Linked DNA regions of Homo sapiens: region 2 is linked to region 1. Evidence: promoter capture Hi-C in 16 types of primary human blood cells and fetal thymus (Javierre and others, 2016). All regions are on one chromosome and are shown on one strand. The core of a region is centred on a gene start or on the middle of the fragment in contact, and the rest is flanking DNA. Distances in the headings are between cores, read along the strand shown.

The links. Contacts are between HindIII fragments. The CHiCAGO score rates a contact against its expected background, and 5 or more counts as called.
Region 2: the fragment with the promoter of RPS13 here is called in contact with the fragment with the promoter of RPL27A in region 1 in 1 of 17 cell types (non-activated CD4 T cells); the score reaches 7.1 in non-activated CD4 T cells.

The regions. Positions count from the first base shown.
Region 1 is chr11:8,681,261-8,684,041 of GRCh38, reverse strand. RPL27A (ribosomal protein L27a) reads right to left here and starts at 1,250. Exons shown (of 5, transcript NM_000990.5): 1 at 1,226-1,250; 2 at 777-840; 3 at 1-36. The coding sequence starts at 1,228. It overlaps TRIM66 (tripartite motif containing 66), which reads left to right and starts at 1,377. Exons shown (of 25, transcript NM_001388022.1): 1 at 1,377-1,441. RefSeq lists enhancers at 329-971, 1,298-1,487, 1,688-1,757, 621-1,820 and a silencer at 978-1,177. The HindIII fragment of the contact is 2,972 bases long and covers 857-2,781 here.
Region 2 is chr11:17,076,250-17,079,030 of GRCh38, reverse strand. It overlaps RPS13 (ribosomal protein S13), which reads left to right and starts at 1,364. Exons shown (of 6, transcript NM_001017.3): 1 at 1,364-1,412; 2 at 1,554-1,602; 3 at 1,785-1,863. The coding sequence starts at 1,390. RefSeq lists an enhancer at 1,131-1,330. The HindIII fragment of the contact is 8,959 bases long and covers 563-2,781 here.

The DNA.
Region 1 (2,781 bases), core at 1-2,500:
CATTACCGCGGCCGCCGGGGTGCTTCCGGTGCTTGCCTGCAGGAATACAAAGCTACGTGGGGCCGGTGTGATGGCTCATGCCTGTAATCCCAGCATTTTAGGAGGACGAGGGGGGGTAGATCACCTGAGGTCAGGAGTTCGAGACCAGCCTGGCCAACACGGAGAAACCCCCGACTCTACTAAAAATAGAAAAAGAATTAGCCGGGCGTCGTGGCGCACACCTGTAATATCAGCTACTCGGGAGGCTGAGGCAGGAGAATCGCTTGAGCCCGGCAGGCAGGGGTTGCAGTGAGCCGAGATTTCGCCACTGCACTCCAGCCTGGGCGACAGTGATCAGTCTCACACACACACAAAAAAGCTACATGCACCACACAGCCTTCTCATGCATCTCAATACTTCCTCGCACAAAAGCAGAGTGTTTCCCAGACTTCTGTGTCCCGCTTACGCTGTTCCCACCCTACCGATGCCGGTTTTCAGCAATGCGATTACTTTAGGATTCCGGGTGAAACATCTTTTCAGGTTCCACATCACAGCATTCCCACAGTACTCCATGTCTTCAACTAACCCAATACCGTGCCTGCTCAATTCCTATTACCCCACTGATGTGAAATTCCTTAGAACTGGAATACTAGAGGATCGTCAGAAAAAAATCAACAGCTGTGCAACTTGACCACAAAAAGGTCTTATTCTAACCCACTTATAGGCTACCGATCTCCAGACTAGCTAAGCACCCGAAGAGAGCCCAAGGCCCACCCCGAGGGGAAGCCGGCACTTACCTATGCGGCCGTGGCCGTGGCTCACGTGGCCCCTAAGTTTCCGGGTCTTCCTCAGTCTGGATGGCTGTGTGGAAAAAGCTTGGTGGTAAGGCCTAAGGAATTAGGGGCAGGGGGCGATGCCCGCCAGCCGAGATGGTCCTGTAAGCCTGTGGGTCAAAGACCTAACTTCTGGAGCGTTTGGGAAAGCTGAGGGTACCGATCCGCTCAGGGCCGTGAGGTCTCACCACGGTAGCGCAGGGGCCCGCGTGTCCTAGAGATCCGAACCGCGGGCCTAACACACGGCTCCGGGAGCCCCGCCCCGGGCCCGCGCCGGCCACCCTGCCCCGCAGGCGGCCATGCGCAGCCTGGAAGCCCCGACCATGGTAGGGAGTGGATGACTAGGGGCAATGGGAATACAGCTTAGGGGTCTCCGCCGGCAAGGAAGAGGAGGCAAGAAACGAAACACCTACCATGTTGGCAGCCCAGACGAAAAAGGAAGGCCTTCGCCAAGTCTCGCGAGGTATCGGCCACGGGGGCGGGGCAAAACGCCTCACTTCCGGTCACAGAGGCCGGGCTTCGGGCGGGGCCTCCTGGTCTCGCGGGATTGCGCGCCTGCTAGTCGCTTCCTCTTTCTGAGGGTGGTGATCCCCCATCACGGAGTGTCCTGGTGGCGGTGTACGGTTTCGGTGAGGCTCGTTGTGCTAGGCTCGGAGGGCGAGAACTGTTGAAGAATCGGGGCTAGGTGTGCTGTACTGCACGCCGCCCGTGCTTGCTTGAGCCAGGCCCTTTTCTGGCGCCTTGGTCAGGGAACCGCCTAAGCCGACCCTAAGGGCCTCGTTGTCTGAGCTCCTCACCAAATGCGCCAGCCCTGAGCCGCCCCGCGCACCTCCACAGTTCTTAGTGGTCTGCCCGGGGCTGGTGATAGTGGCTACTGGTTTGTCTCCCGGCCGCAGTGCGGAACCGCGAGGCCCTCTTTAATCCTCAGTGTGCCCACCTGGTGTCTCGCTCGGTTTCCTGAAGCTCGGGCGGCTCCCGAAATGCCTTCTCCCGCTCTCACACTTCTGAGTGGGCACTGCAGCTTCCTTTCTCTTTTGCCCTTTTGCTATCATTTGGTTGTCCTCTCAAGTTTGAGCAACTTAAATTGCTTCAGGGACTTAGATGCCTGGTTGCTTTATGGTCCTTTTAATGCAGATGTTGTAAATACTTTTTCTAAATGCCACATTTAGGCCAGGCGCGGTGGCTCACACCTGTAGTCCCAACACTTTGGGAGGTCGAGGCGGGAGGATTTCTTGAGGCGAGTAGTTCAACACCAGCCTGGGCAACATAGTGAGACCCTCGTCTCCACATACAAAAGTAAATAAGTAAAAATAAATGCTATTTTTGAATTTTCTCCAGAATCTACATAACACGCCTGTGACCCTTTCCTGGACACAATGCAGACAGTTGCTCGCTTCCCCACCTGTACCACCACACAATCTAGTATAACCCTTATGTAATTTATTGACCTACGTTTGTCTTCCCTACTAGACCTAATTCCTTATGTGGTCAAGGACTGTTTTTTTTAATCCACACTCAACTAGTGATTGTTGAGTGAATAAATGAACTTACCCTCACCTCCCTGTCTTCGCTAATAGCAGCATGTCTTCGCTCTTAAGTCGGTTCCTTCAACCAGTGTTCAAGATCCCATCCCCTCGCTAGTCTATTAATAGATCCCATGGGAAAAATGAAATAAATTTTTAAAATCCCATCCCCTCAGTTATTCTCTGTGTGTATGTGTGAGCGTGTATTTATTTATTTTTCTTTGTCTTGCCCCCTTCAGCTAAAATATATTTTAGCTAAAATATCCAAAATTCTGGCCGGGCGTGGTGGCTTACTTCTGTAATCCCAGCACTTTGGAAGGCCGAGGCGGGCGGATCACGAGGTCAGGAGATCGAGACCATCCTGGCTAACACGGTGAAACCCCGTCTCTACTAAAAATACAAAAAATTAGATGGGCGTGGTGGTGGGCGCCTGTAGTCCCAGCTAC
Region 2 (2,781 bases), core at 115-2,614, 8.4 Mb before region 1:
GGCACTGAGTCAGTCTTTTTCTTTCTTTCCTTTTTTTTTTTTTTTTTTAAGACAGAGTCTTGCTCTGTTGCCCAGGCTGGCGCGCAGTGGTGCTATCTCGGCTCACCGCAATGTCCTTCCCGGCTCCAGAGATTCTCCACCTCAGCCTCCTTCGTAGCTGGAACCAAAGGCACGAGCGAGCACGCCCGGCTAATTCTTTGTATTTATAGAGAGGGGGTTTCGCCATGTTGCCCAGGCTAGGTCTGTCTTAAAAGAGCTTCTTCCGGCCAGGCGCGGTGGCTCACGCCTGTAATCCCAGCACTTTGGGAGGCCGAGGCGGGCGGATCACCTGAGGTCGGGAATTTAAGACCAGCCTGACCAACATGGAAAAACCCGTCTCTACTAAAAATACAAAATTAGCTGGAAGTGGTGGCGCATGCCTGTGATCCCAGCTATTCAGGAGGCTGAGGCAGGAGAATCGCTTGAAGCCGGGAGGCGGAGGGTGCGGCAAGCCGAGATCGCGCCATTGCACTCCAGCCTGCGAATCAAGAGCGAAACTCCGTCTCAAAAAAAAAAAAAAGCTTCTTCCTTGACGGTTCCCTTTTCCCATGAAATTCAAATGCTTCATTTTATCCCTCATCCTCTTGGCCTTTGCAGTCTTGCTCCCAAGGCTCTTCCCTGCCCGCCAACTCTCTCACTTGGGAACATAGCTCCGTAAGCCTCTGCCCAACCCTTCTCCCCGGCGAGCCCAGCGCCCCAGAGCCCTGCGCAGGGGAATTCGAGTGCGGAGGGCGGCAGGCATCCGTGGGGACCTGGTTCAACTCCTTAGACCGGTTCTTCACCGTCAGCGACTCTCCCCTGACAGATTAGGGTAGGATTTAGAAATGAGAAATGGAAGCGCTGGCTGGGCGGTAGCCGCTGCCATGGCTTCCCGTGTGGTCCTCATCACATGCTATTGTATCTGTTAATTTATTAGGCGCAGGGCCGACTCTGAGGGATCTAGTGCCAGGACAAAGCCAGGCACTGGTGAATGAGCAAACACCTGTGTATGGCTGCTTCTTCCAGCCCTACCTGCTCCATACCCACCCCCAGCGCAGCATTCGAATCTTTGTGATCTCGGCGTCCACAGGGAATTTCGACGCAAGCTGGCGTCAGCCTCAAATTCCCGCTCTGGCAACAAGGCTGACCAAAGACCGATGCATGCCGGGATGAGGCTGGATTGACGATCTCTTGCGACGCTGAAATGCATTTCGGGAGATGTAGTCACACAGACGGGCGGTGGCTGCGCAGCGTAGCTCCGCCTCCTGCGTGAGAGGAAGCGGGGACGTGTGAGGTCACTTCCTGCGTGTTGGGTGGCTTCCTGCGGCGTTTCCACTCTCGCTCTCCTTTCGTTGCCTGATCGCCGCCATCATGGGTCGCATGCATGCTCCCGGGTGAGCTCGGGGCATCAAGCCGGATTGCTGGGCGGGGGGTGGGAGGAAGACAGGGAGTGTGGGCAGCGGGCCGAGGGGATGATGTTCTGGGCTGCTCTGGCACTAGCCGCCACCTCACCTCGAGACTGCTTCTCTCCCCAGGAAGGGCCTGTCCCAGTCGGCTTTACCCTATCGACGCAGCGTCCCCACTGTAAGTAGCGCGCTGGGACCGGGGAGAATCCGGGGAGGGGGTTGGCATTTGTCTCGGGTGAAGCGACGCCAGGGTGAGGAACTTGCGTGTATGAGGAGCGCGGTTTTGCGGAAGGAGAGACCGCTGTTCTGCGGCGCCATTCCTGGGTTCTCATCCTAAGGCTGCTTTCTATTCCATAACAGTGGTTGAAGTTGACATCTGACGACGTGAAGGAGCAGATTTACAAACTGGCCAAGAAGGGCCTTACTCCTTCACAGATCGGTGAGTGTTTGTGTCTAACATAGCCTATTTCGCCTGTCCTCGTGTGACTTGTAGGATCTAGTAGGTGGTAAAGTTATTTTAAAAATAGCCAAAACTCTGGTCTCGCCACCGTGCTAGAGGCATCATTGTAAGCACTTCACATGTACTGATTTCGTTTAATTCTGACCACAATACTTTGAAATAAATCTTCATGGCTTTCACCCCAGTTTACAGTTGAGGAAGCAGAGGCACACTGCCGCTGGATACTAACCAGCCCCAAATCACACAGCTGTCAAGTGGAGGAGTTGGAATTGGCTAAGCAGAGTGCCTGACACAGTTCCTCACAGTTAGGTGTGGTTTGAATCTCAGCTGCGTGTGACTTCGTGCAAGTGGCTTCATTCAGCAAATGTTTACCTTCTATGTGCTGAACATGGTTCTGGGGCCTGAGAACATACTACTCTCCGACTCCCCCGCCCAAAAAAGCCAGCCGCAATGTGCCTGTAGTCCCAGATACTTGGGATGCAGAGGTGAGAGGATCACCAGAGCCTAGAAGTCCCAGGCTGCAGTGAGCTATGATGAAGCCACTGCACTCCTGGGTGACAGAGAGACCCCACCTCTTTTTTTTTTTTTTTTTGAGACAGTCTTGCTCTTGTCGCCCAGTCTGGAGTGCAGTGGCGCGATCTCAGCTCACTGCAACCTCCACCTCCTGGATTCAAGCGATTCTCCTGCCTCAGCCTCCCGAATAGGTGGGATTACAGGCGCCCGCCAGCAGGCCCAGCTAATTTGTGTGTTTTTGTTTGAGACCGATTCTCACTTTGTCACCCAGGCTGGAGTGCAGTGGTATGATCTCGGCTCACTGCAACCTCCGCCTCCTGGGTTCAAGCAAGCAATTCTCCTGCCTCTGCCTCTGGAGTAGCTGAGACTACAGGCCGCACCACC